3 separate regions of the Homo sapiens genome follow, and regions 1 and 2 are each linked to region 3. Evidence: promoter capture Hi-C in human tissues and cell types (Jung and others, 2019). All regions are on one chromosome and are shown on one strand. The core of a region is centred on a gene start or on the middle of the fragment in contact, and the rest is flanking DNA. Distances in the headings are between cores, read along the strand shown.

What was found. Contacts are between HindIII fragments. The study calls those that stand out against the background at their distance.
Region 1: a contact is called between the fragment with the promoter of CCDC154 here and the fragment with the promoter of CACNA1H in region 3, in 1 of the 25 tissues and cell types used here (pancreas).
Region 2: a fragment that was not itself captured here is called in contact with the fragment with the promoter of CACNA1H in region 3 in 1 of the 25 tissues and cell types used here (lymphoblastoid cells).

What each region holds. Positions count from the first base shown.
Region 1 is chr16:1,441,799-1,445,805 of GRCh38, forward strand. It overlaps CCDC154 (coiled-coil domain containing 154), which reads right to left and starts at 2,758. Exons shown (of 17, transcript NM_001143980.3): 1 at 2,518-2,758; 2 at 1,998-2,214; 3 at 1,708-1,897; 4 at 1,463-1,503; 5 at 1,082-1,177; 6 at 608-731. The coding sequence starts at 2,524. It overlaps CLCN7 (chloride voltage-gated channel 7), which reads right to left. Exons shown (of 25, transcript NM_001287.6): 25 at 3,137-4,007. The HindIII fragment of the contact is 26,646 bases long and covers 1-4,007 here.
Region 2 is chr16:834,601-838,343 of GRCh38, forward strand. No RefSeq gene overlaps it. Among named protein-coding and RNA genes, the nearest start is that of GNG13, 36 kb to the left of the region's middle. The HindIII fragment of the contact is 6,474 bases long and covers 1-3,743 here.
Region 3 is chr16:1,150,810-1,154,510 of GRCh38, forward strand. It overlaps CACNA1H (calcium voltage-gated channel subunit alpha1 H), which reads left to right and starts at 2,297. Exons shown (of 35, transcript NM_021098.3): 1 at 2,297-2,661; 2 at 2,911-3,227. The coding sequence starts at 2,929. RefSeq lists enhancers at 1,196-1,776, 3,151-3,701. The HindIII fragment of the contact is 19,639 bases long and covers 1-3,701 here.

The DNA of each region.
Region 1 (4,007 bases), core at 1,508-4,007, 290 kb after region 3:
CTCGCTGTGTTGCCCAGGCTGGTCTTGACTTCCCAGGCTCAAGCGATCCTCCCGCCTCGGCCTCCCAAAAGTGCTGGGATTTACAGGCGTGTGCCACTGCACGTGGCCTGAGCTTTTGTTTTTTTGTTTTGTTTTGTTTTTTGAAATGGAGTCTCACTCTGTCACCAGGCTGGAGTGGCGCGATCTCAGCTCACTGTGACCTCCTCCTGCTGGATTCAAGCAATCCTCCTGCCTCAGCCTCCTCAGTAGCTGAGGCTACAGGTGCCCGCCACCACACCTGGCTAGTTTTTTGTATTTTTAGTAGAGATGGGGTTTCACCATGTTGGCCAGGCTGGTCTTGAACTCCTGACCTTGTGATCTGCCCGCCTCAGCCTCCCAAAGTGCTGGGATTACAGGCGTGAGCCACCGTGCCCAAACAACCTGAACTTTTGAAATGGGGCATGTGCGGCTGAGGAATTGAGTTTTACATTGTCTACAACTATAGCTGATTTCAGTGGACACAGATACATGGTGAACGGCCGCTGTATCGGATGGCACAGGCCGAGAGGGTTAGGGTCTCCTCCTCGGCCCTCTGGGCGGCCCCCCTGAAGCCTGGGCCTGGTGGTACCTGCATTCTGGCCACCTCCAGGTCCACCCTCCGGCTGCTGTCCTCTTGGTTCTTCTGCAGGGCGCCGCAGGCCACCTCCCGGCCCTGCTCCTCCTGCTGCAGCAAGTCGGTCAGCTTGGCCAGTCTAGAGAAGTCGGCTGTGGTCACACCAGCCCAGCTGGCCGGAGGGCCCAGCAGGGTGAGGCTGACCCACAGGCTGGCCAGGCAGGAGGTGTACGACCCCCGCCCCCTGCCCCACCAGAAAACAGAGGAATGGGAAACACAGCACCGGTGGCAGGGAAGGGCTGCTGCGAGTCTCTTCCCCACAGAGGGTCCGCAGCGGGCCCAGGCTTCCCAGCACGCTTGGCACCGAGGGCGGTGCCCCGCCGGGTTACTGGGGACACACGGCAGGGGGACCCGTGTCTTGGCTCAGCCAGGGACTCTCAAATGACCCCACGCAAGCTCCGGAGCCAGCCACGGGCGGTGGGCGCCCACCTGAGGCCGGCCTCTTGCTCGGCGCCCCTTCTCTCCGCCTCCTGTTGCACCTGCCTCCTCCTGAGCCGGGTCAAGGCTTCCCGGACCTCCACCAGCCTGGGACACAACAAGCCATTCCCGAGAGGCCCAGGCGGGCTGAGCAGCCTCGGCGGGCTGGGGGTCTGGCCAAGGGGCCCCTGTGGCCACCTCCCATGGCTTTCCTGGGCCTCTGAAGGCCGCCCAGGCACGTACAAACCCGGCCTTTTCTAGCTGGACCTGGATGTGTATCCCCCACTCCAGCGACACCCAGCGGGAGATGTGGACCCCCCACCACACCTGCCGCTGCTTTCTCGCCACCACCTCCCCGCCCTGGGCCTGTGCCCCTAGGTGTGTGGGGGGTACCTTTTGTCCAGGGCCTGCATCTGGTTCTGGAGACCAGAGAACTGCGAGGAGGAAGAGGAGGCTGTGGGCTGGACCTAGGCCCGGGTCTGGCACCTGCCCCTGGAGTCCACCCAGCTCCGGCACCACTGGCCCCTGGGAGCTCTGGGCCTGGGCAGCAGGGGTGAGCTGGGCTCCAGGCCCAGAAGCAGCTGCCCCCAACACCCAGGAAAGGGGCAGCTCGACCTGTGGGTGGGGGAGCCGCTCACCTCCGGCGCCTCCTTTTCGGGGGCCTGGGCTGCCGGCCGCGCCTCCTGCTGCAACTGCCTCAGCTCTGAGCCCTGCAGCTGCACGCGGGCCCGCACCTGGAGCAGCTCCCGCAGCAGGCTCCGCGTGGCGCGCTCACAGCGCTGCTTGTGCTCCCGCAGGCAGGCCACCTCGGCCTGCAGCTCCACCACCCTGGCCGGGGCGAGAGTGGGCGAGTCTGGCGGTGCCCGCCGTGGAGGCGGAGGCGGCGGCGACGTGGTCCTCCCCCGCCAGCACCCCCTGCAGGGCTCACCACTGCTCCAGCTGGTTCCAGTGCTTGGCGGTGTCCTGCTCGGGGACAGAGGCCGTGGATGTCGGATGGCTGGACTCATACCTCTCCGAGAGCTCCTCCAGGCTCAAGGGCTCGGGGCTGGCCAGGCCTCCTGCCAGGAGGAGCCCCAGGTCTTCCAGGGTGACGGCTCTCAGCTGGGAAGGGGCCGATGCCCCTGAGGGTCCACTGTCAGCCAACTCTACAAGGAGGCATCTTGGGAGCTTGCCCCTTGGGGCCCGGCCCCCACTGGAGCTTACGGGAACAAGGCCCCAAACCCCCGCAGGACCCTCGCCCACCACCCAGAGCTCAACGCGTCTCCTTGGGTCACACAGGATCCAGACGGGCTTGGCTCAGACAAGTCCAGGGCCCTGCCTGAAGACACACAGCACTGGGCGGCAGGAACAAGCGAGCTGGAGGGAGCCCGGGGTCAGAAGCAGAGCGGTCCCCACCCTCACACCTGTGGCAAGCCCCTCCCTGGGCCCCGCTCCTCCGCTCTGGTCACCTGACATGGCTGCTGGGCTGCACCGGCCACCCTGCCCTCGGCTGTAGCTTGGGCCTTGGGGCCTCTGAGGTTGCCCAGAGCTGGGCACAGGCCAGGGGGGTCAGGAGCCAGAGGAAGTCCCGTGAGAGCTCTGGGCCTTGAGGGACGAGCTGCTGCCCTCGTCTGGCTGCCTTCTCAGGGTCCCCAGGGAGGCAGGTGTGGGGCAGCGGGGCCGTTCCAGAACCTTCCTTCTCTCCCCAGAACCTCACGGCTTCACAGCCCAACTGCCAATGGAACTCTAGCCCTCAGCTCTCCCACTCCCGCAGGGCCCCCCAACTGCCTGCTTCTGGATGGATCTGAGGGGCCCCACTCCCGAGAGGGCGCAGACACGTGTCCTCTGGCAAAGGGGACTTCTTCAGCTGCCGAGGGAGGGGAAGGAGGCCCTGACGAGGCCTGGGCACGCCGGGAGGGACGCTGGGAGCAGGGAGGCCGAGAGCCCCAGGACACCCCGGACACAGCCAGGCCCACGTCCGAGCGGAGCCCGAGGCCTGGGCAGCGCCATCGGGGTGAGGGGCACAGCCGGGCTCCACGGGAACCCATCTTGCTCAGCAGCCCCATTAAAAGGCAAGAAGCAGCGATGTGAATCCTAACCGCTGATTTTATTTAACCGAATATATCCAAAATATGATCACTTCCAGGTCCTCAGTACACAACCACCACGAGGGAAACCCAGACCTAGGTTTCCGGCGCCGACTCTGAGGCCCGGGAGTTTTCTTCTTGCGTCACCCCAGCGTGGGCACCCCGGCCCGCCCCCCTCCACCTGGAGCGCCTCTGCCTTGCCCCCAGACCCACCAGCCAGGAGCCAGAGGAGGGAGGCTGAGGGGCGGGGACGAGGAAGAGGATGTGGCTGGTGCCCTGGGTGGCCGCAGCCGCTGTCTTTCACGCCTTTCTCACTCCACACGGTGCCCCGACCCCAGGGTCCCGAAAGTCCCAGGCTGTTGGACGTGGTCTGGGTGGGGTGGGAGGGACGACGCTGGCAAAGGCGGGCTGAGAGGATTTCTTTATTTCGCGTTCAGACCCAACACACTCGGACACCTTGGGGCCCTGTGAGGGCTAAGCAGGGTGGTGGCGTCAGCTCCCGGGGAGGCCCCACTCCCTGGGGAGGAAATACACGGCAGGGGGCCGCACCCAGCCCCCCACGGAGGGACCCGTGTTGCTCTAACAGGGACACTGAAGTTGCCTCTGCCGCCCCGTGAGGGGCCTGTGGCGGCCCCAGACCCAGCCCAGCCAGGCCAGAGGAGCCTCCCAGGGGCCCTCAGGTGGTGAGGTGGGGGCTTCCCGGCCCCGGTGCCCACCGGCCCTTCTAGCTGCCTGTGCTGGGCCAGGTGTCCTCTGAGGCCGGCAGGAGTCTGGCCCCCGCTGCACCTGCGCTTGGTGGCTGGCAGGGGCGGGGTAGGGAGGTCACCCTCGAGGCCGGGGTCCCCATGTGCTAGGGGAAGACCTGCCTTCCC
Region 2 (3,743 bases), core at 1,239-3,738, 320 kb before region 3:
GATAGTGGCTCGCGGGGCCTGTGTACCAGCCTGGTTGTCTTGGCAGAAGTTTGGCATTTTGATACGCCTGATGCTTTCCTGTGCCGTCTGCCTCATTCCTCACTCCTTGAGTTTCCTGTGGGCTGGGGTTGAGGGGGTTCAGCCCAGTCTCCACCCAGCACCCTCAGCCAGCTCGTCTGTGCCGTCTGCCTCATTCCTCACTCCTTGAGTTTCCCGTGGGCTGGGAGTTCAGCCCACAGTCTCCACCCAGCACCCTCAGCCGGCTCCTCTGTTGGGTGCTGTGTCTGCGTCTCTGCATTGTTCCACCGACACCACAGCTGCACTTGTCCCTGTGATGGGCCCAGGCTGGGCTCCTCTTGCCCTGTGGTCTCCGATTCCTATTACCTGTCACCAAACAGTTCGCCCCCTTGGTGGTCCTTGCCTGAGTCACCATGGGTAGCAAAATGGTTTCTTCTAGAACTTTTGTGGCCGTATTATTACAGACTTGTCTTTAGTAGGGGCAAAATCCCATCCTCACGTCCCTCACCAAATTAAATGGCTGTCCAGACTCCATGTGGACTGTGACCCTGGGCCTGTGGGACCAGACTGGCCTGGGGAATGGGCATGACTCGTGTTGTGGAGGGAGGTGGGGAGTGGAAGAGAGGATGCCCTTCCATGTGTGGCCCGCCCTGCCCTGCCCTCCCCACACAAACTCCCTGGTTTCTGCCTGTGCCAAGCCATGAGCCTCCAGGAGGGCCTGGACTGGGGGAAACCAGTCTGGGGGCTGCAGCCCCCTCAGGCCCAGCTTCAGAGGACCCCACAAAGTGATGGGCCTGAAGGGGAGGGGGAGGGCATCTGCCTGCTCTGCAGACCCCAGGCCAGGCCAGGGGCTGGGCCAGACACAGGGGCTGCTTCTGGGCATGACCCCCCCCCCCGACCCCCCGCCCAAGTGAGGTGGCTGTGTGACCTTCGTGCTGGGCGTTTGTCTGGGACACAGAGCTGTGGCCTCCCCCACTGTGCAGCGATGGCCGACCTGTCTCTTGAGACCGTCTGTCCCCTTCTGAGCCCCTGGGAATAGTGGGGTGAGTTACCAGCCACACAGCTGCATGGCTGGACACTTCTCCCCACACCTCAGCCTGAGGCCCTGTGCTGGAGCACCGAGGATCATCTGGGCGGGAGCTGCCTGCGGCCTGTGGGTGCCTAGCTGTGCATCTCTGGGACCTGGAGGGAAGGATAGCTCAGAAGGGGCTTTTCAGGGGTGACCATGTAAGGCAAATTAAGGAAAGAGGGTGAACAGGGAACACTCGAAGATGAGAGATGCCTTTTCTCTTTGAGCATGTGTGAGAACATGCTAGGGTGGTCTGGAAGGTCTGTAATGGGGGTGGTGCTGGGTATTGCCCTATTGGGGGTGCAGCCTCCGCTTCACAGGGCTCTGCACCAACAGGCCCAGGTCCTCGTGGGGCCTTTGCTTGGGCAGCTATGGGCACAGTAGCCACATGTAGGGGGGCCTCCCCAAATGGAGCCTGCAGGGTTTGCAGTGGTGAGTCCTCAACCGCTAACATAAAATGCACATATTTTAGGTTATAACTGGATGAGTTTTAACAAATGTGACACCAGTAACCCACAGCTCGGTCAAGACAGAACACTCCTTGGTCAAGACAGAACAACACCCTGAACATTCCTCATGCCTCTCCCCAGGTAACCCCCCCCACAGAGGGAACCGTTGTCCTCATGTGTGTTTCAGGATAGGTTAGTTTCTCCAATTCTGAAACTTGGTGTAAACTTTCACTCCGTCAGTGCCTTTGGCGGCATCCATGTTGCTTTCTTTTTTCTTGCCTTATTACTCTGGCTAGCAAGTCTAGTGTGATATGGAATAGAAACAGTGGGAGTGGCTGTCCTTGTCCTGTGCTTGATCTTACAGTGAAGCTTTCGGTTTTTCCCCATTAAATAGTATGAGGGCTATGGATTCTGTAGATGCCTTTTATTAGGCTGAAGAAGTTTCCTTCTCTTCTTAATTTGCTGAGTTTCTATTATGAATAGTGTTGAATTTTGTCTAATGTTTTTTCCTGTATCTATCAGAGATACAATCATATGGTTTTTCTTAGTGTTTTAATTGGTTGATTTGCTTTTTGTTTTTGTTTTTTCTTTTTTTGATGGAGTTTCACAATCGTTGCCCAGGCTGGAGTACAGTGGCATGATCTTCGCTTACTGCAGCCTCCACCTCCTGTGTTCAAGTGATTCTCCTGCCTCAGCCTCCTGAGTAGCTGGGATTACAGGTGCTTGCCACCATGACCGGCTCATTTTTTGTATTTTTAGTAGAGATGGGGTTTCACCATGTTGGCCAGGCTGGTCACAAACTCCTCACCTCAAGTGATCCACCTGCCTTGGCCTCCCAAAGTGCTGGGATTACAGATGTGAGCCACCGTGCCTGGCTGATTGGTTTTCAGATTGAACCAACCTTGCATTCCTCATCATGGAATATAATCCACAGTCCAGTTGAGCATGGTGTCTAATTCTTTTTACATATTTCTGATATTACCAATTTGCTAATATCTTGCTGAGGTTTTGTTTTCTGTCTATATTCATGAGGTATATTGGTCTGCGGTTTGGCTTTGTTTTCTTTCTTTCTTTTTTTTTTTGAGACAAGAGTCTTGCTCTGTCGCCCAGGCCAGAGTGCAGTGGTGAGATCTCAGCTCACTGCAATGTCCATCTCCTGGGTTCAAGCAATTCTCCTGCCTCAGCCTCCCGGGTAGCTGGGAATATAGGCGTCTGCCAACATGCCTGGCTAATTTTTTCTATTTTTAGTAGAGACGGGGTTTCACCATGTTAGCCAGGGTGGTCTCGATCTCCTGACCTCATGATCCACCTGCCTCAGCCTCCCAAAGTGCTGGGATTACAGGTGTGAGCCACTGTGCTTGGACTCTTTTTTTTTTTTTTTTTTTTTTTTTTTTTGAGACAGTTTCACTCTGTCACTCATGCTGGGAGTGTAGTGGTGTGATCTTGGCTCACTGCAACCTCTGCCTCCTGGGTTCAAATGATTCTTGTGCCTCAGCCTCCCGAGTAGCTGGGATTACAGGTGCACACCACCACACCTGGCTCATTTTTTGTTTTTAGCAGAGACAAGGTTTTGCCATGTTGGCCAGGCTGGTCTCGAACTCCTGGCCTCAAGTGATCTACCCACCTTGGCCTCCCAAAGTGCTGGGATTACAGGTGTGAACCACTGTGTCCGGCCTGTGGTTTTTTCTTTTCTTTTCTTTTCTTTTCTTTTTTTTTTTTTTTGAGATGGAGTCTCGCTCTGTCACCCAGGTTGGAGTGCAGTGGTGTGATCTCGGTTCACTGCAACCTCCGCCTCCCGGTTTGAGTGACTCTCCTGACTCAGCCTCTCAGGTAGCTGGGACTACAGGTGTCCACCACCACGCCTAGCTAATTTTTTGTATTTTTAGTAGAGACGGGGTTTCACTGTGTTAGCTAGGATGGTGTCAATCTCCTGACCTCATGATCCGCCTGCCTCGGCCTCCCAAAGTGCTGGGATTATAGACGTGAGCCACTGCACCCCTCTGGTTTTCTTTTCTTGTACTGTCTTTTTCTGGTTTTAGTATTACGGTAATGCTGGCCTGATGAAACACACTGGGAAGTGTTTCCTCCTCTTCTGTTTTTTGGAAGAGGTTGTGTAGAATTGGTGTTATTTCTTTTATTAAGGTTTGGTGGATTCAGTCAAACCATCTTTGCTTGGACGTTTACTTTTATTTATTTTTCTTTTCTTT
Region 3 (3,701 bases), core at 1,047-3,546:
CATGGGCTGCCGTTGCTGCTGGAAAGAGCCTCTGCTCCTCTTCCGGCTGCCGGCTTGTCCTCACAGAGGCCCCGCCCTCGTCTATCTGGGCGCCCCCTGGCACTTAGTTTGGAAACTGTTTTCTCCTCCCCATAAGACGGAAGCTGCAGGCATGAGAACCGGGTCTGTCTGGTCACAGCCAAGGCACCTCCACCCTCCAACCGGGCCCCGCGCACTGTCCACCCTCAACTACCATTTGTCCAGCAAATCAACGACAGCCCCCAGCTAGAATCTGGAGCTTCAGTCTGTGGCTTTGCCTTAGCTTTAATTAATTAATTAATTAACTTATTATTTTTTTGAGGCAGAGTCCACTCTGTCACCCAGGCTGGAGTGCAGTGGCGTGATCTCGGCTCACTGCAACCTCTGCCTCCTGGGTTCAAGTGATTCTCCTCCCTCAGCATCCCGAGTAGCGGGGATTACAGGCATATGTCACCATGCCTGGCTAATTTTTGTATTTTAGTAGAGACGGGATTTCACCATGTTGGTCAGGCTGGTCTCGAACTCCTGACCTCAAGTGATCCACACACCTCGGCCTCCCAAAGTGCTGGGATTACAGGCGTGAGCCACTGCACCTGGCCCACCCTAACTTTTAACGAGCAGGGTGTTGATAAAAAGATCAGAGGTTCCAAGTGCCCTCTGGACCGGACTCCGATTCAGCGTTTGTGTCTCCCCACCTGCTCCAGCCTCCCTCCACGGATGTGTCCAAAGCACGGGGCTCTCCTAGGTCCTGCTCCTCTGTGGCTGGAACCTTAATTGGACCTTTGAAGGCCTAATTCACCAGCTGTGGCCCTCCATCGCTGAGTAGTTGCATTAAAATAGACTGAATGTTTTCCTTTTCTTGAAAGTTCCCGTATACAGGAGGAGGTGCTGCTGAAAGGACCTGTACCCCAGCCAGGCCCCCACACTCCTGCCTTCCAGTTCCTCGGCCCACCCCAGGTGCTGTGTGTCCTTCCGGGCCCCAGCTGGGCAGGGCCTCTTCTTCACCCTGCACGATGTGGCCCACCCGGGGGAGGTCCTGCTTCTCTGCTGCTCACCCGCAGGTGGGAAGCCACAGCCGCCCCACAGCCTCTCCGGGTCTGGGGTCTCAGGGTGCGCCCTGGAGCAGGGCCTCTTTGTCTGGAGGGAGAAGGGGTCTCTCCCACTACCAGGGGCCCCTTGTTGGCGGGCGTGCTGAGGTGCACACCTGGGAGCTCAAGCTCCCTGGTGCACAAAGCAGTGGTCCCAGAAGCAAAACCACCCTTCCAGCCTGGAGGGGTGCCCTGGGGGGAGTCAGGAGCCTGGGCACCTGCCCCCACCTGCTGGCACCTCGAGGTGCGGCCAGCCCTCCCTGGGACAAGGGCCTGGCCATCCCCAATGTCTGAAGGGTCCACCCCTTCCCGACCAAACCACTTGCTCTGAGGGTCCAGGGGAAGGCCCTTCTGCTGGCCTGGCTGAAGGAGCAGCTGCTGGCAGGGGGAAGGGGCCTGCACTTCTCCTCGGGGGCCCCTGGGTGAGTCTCGCTGAGGCAGCGGGGTTGGAGGATGCAGGAGCACCAGGCTGCCGTCCCCAGGGTCCCCCAGATCCCCACGCGGGAGGGGACCGGAGACGAGGACAAGTTCGCGGAAACTGCCCGTGCGTGTCGGGGAGAGATGCGAGTGCAGGAGCGCCCAGCCGTAAAGCACACCCCCGCCCGCCCCCGCGCCCCATCACACACGCGCGCGCGGGCACACCCGGGACACACACGCGGCGGGGAAGGGGCACGCAGCCTCTCGCCTTCCACGCCCGCCCGGTCCCCGCCCCTCCGCCGACCCGGGCCCGCGTCGTAGTGGGGGTGGGGGTGGGGGCGGCGGCGGCGCGCGCGGCAGCGCGAAGGGGGAGGGGGAGCCGGAGCGGGAGGGGGAGGGGCGCGGCATCGGCGGCTCGGCCGCCCCCGCAGTTGGGGGCAGGGAAGGACGTAGGTGCTCCCCCTCCCACCCCGCCGGAGCCTCCCGCGAGCGCCCCCTGGTGCACCCCACGCCCGGCATTGTTGGGGAGCACGAAAAGCGGGGAGCCCAGTGCGGGGGCGTGGAGGGGGCGCGGGCGGGGTCCAACTTCCCGCACCCGGGGGGGGGCGGGGCGCCGGGCGGCGACAGGGAGGGGTCGCTCGGGCGCGCGCGTCTCGGGCCGGGGGCGGATCCTCCCCAGTACCCCCCCGCCCGCCCCGCCCCCGGCCCCGCCCCGGCCACGCTGGCCCCGCCCCGGTCGCGCCGGCCCCGCCCCGCCCCGCCCCCCGCCGCTCAGCCCGAAGTTTCCTGCGCCGCGCGCGGACGGGCTCGAGGCTCGCTCGCTGCCTCACCGGTCCCCGGCCCGCGCCCCGCGCCCCGCGCCCCGCGCCCCGGCCTCACCCGTCCGCTCAGCGGCCTCCACGCCGCGCCGAGGCCGCCGCCGTCGCCTCCGCCGGGCGAGCCGGAGCCGGAGTCGAGCCGCGGCCGGGAGCCGGGCGGGCTGGGGACGCGGGCCGGGGGCGGAGGCGCTGGGGGCCGGGGCCGGGGCCGGGGGCGGAGGCGCTGGGGGCCGGGGCCGGGGCCGGGCGCCGAGCGGGGTCCGCGGTGACCGCGCCGCCCGGGCGATGCCCGCGGGGACGCCGCCGGCCAGCAGAGCGAGGTGAGACGCGGCGAGGACGCGCGCCCGGGACCCTCTTCAACTTGCGCGAAGCGGGCCGGGGAGCCCCTCGGGGTGGGGGTGGGGCCGCTGGAGGGAGGGAGGGGGCGGGCGGGGGCGGGGGGCGCGTTTGTCTCTAATAAGAAAAGACAAAGACATCCCGGCGGCCGCGGCTGTTCCCGCAGCTCCGCGCCGCGGGAGGCAGGGCGGGGGCGTCGCCACCGGCCCCGGGTCACCCCCTGTCCTCTGCAGGTGCTGCCGGCCGCCACCATGACCGAGGGCGCACGGGCCGCCGACGAGGTCCGGGTGCCCCTGGGCGCGCCGCCCCCTGGCCCTGCGGCGTTGGTGGGGGCGTCCCCGGAGAGCCCCGGGGCGCCGGGACGCGAGGCGGAGCGGGGGTCCGAGCTCGGCGTGTCACCCTCCGAGAGCCCGGCGGCCGAGCGCGGCGCGGAGCTGGGTGCCGACGAGGAGCAGCGCGTCCCGTACCCGGCCTTGGCGGCCACGGTCTTCTTCTGCCTCGGTCAGACCACGCGGCCGCGCAGCTGGTGCCTCCGGCTGGTCTGCAACCCATATCCTTCCCGGCCGGCGGGGGGCGGGGGGCGGGGGGCGTGGGGAGGGTGGGGGCCCGGGGCGCGGGACTCCCTCGGCATGCGCCCCCGCGCGCCCCTGTTGGTGGGACCTGGCGTGGGCCGGGCGCGCGGGGGTGCAGGGCAGGGGCTGGAGGACCGCGCTCTAATTTCTGAGAGTGGCGGGCTTGGGGGGCCACCGGGCGCCTCCGGACTCCCTTCCCCAGGGCCGGCTCCGGACGGAGAAGGTGGAAGCGAAGCGGTGAGGCCCCCGCGGGCTTGGAGGGGAGAGGAGTCGGGGAGGGAGGGAAGGTCCTAACTCCTCGCGGCCCCAAGGGTGTTGGCCAGGACGGGAATTTCCCCCTTGCCCACCCCTCACTGTCTGAAGGTCCTGCCCGAGGCAGGCCCCTCGCGGGGGAGGGGGAGGCCAGAGGAGCTGGAGTCAGGGGCGCAAAGTTTTCAGCCGGCGCCTGGTGG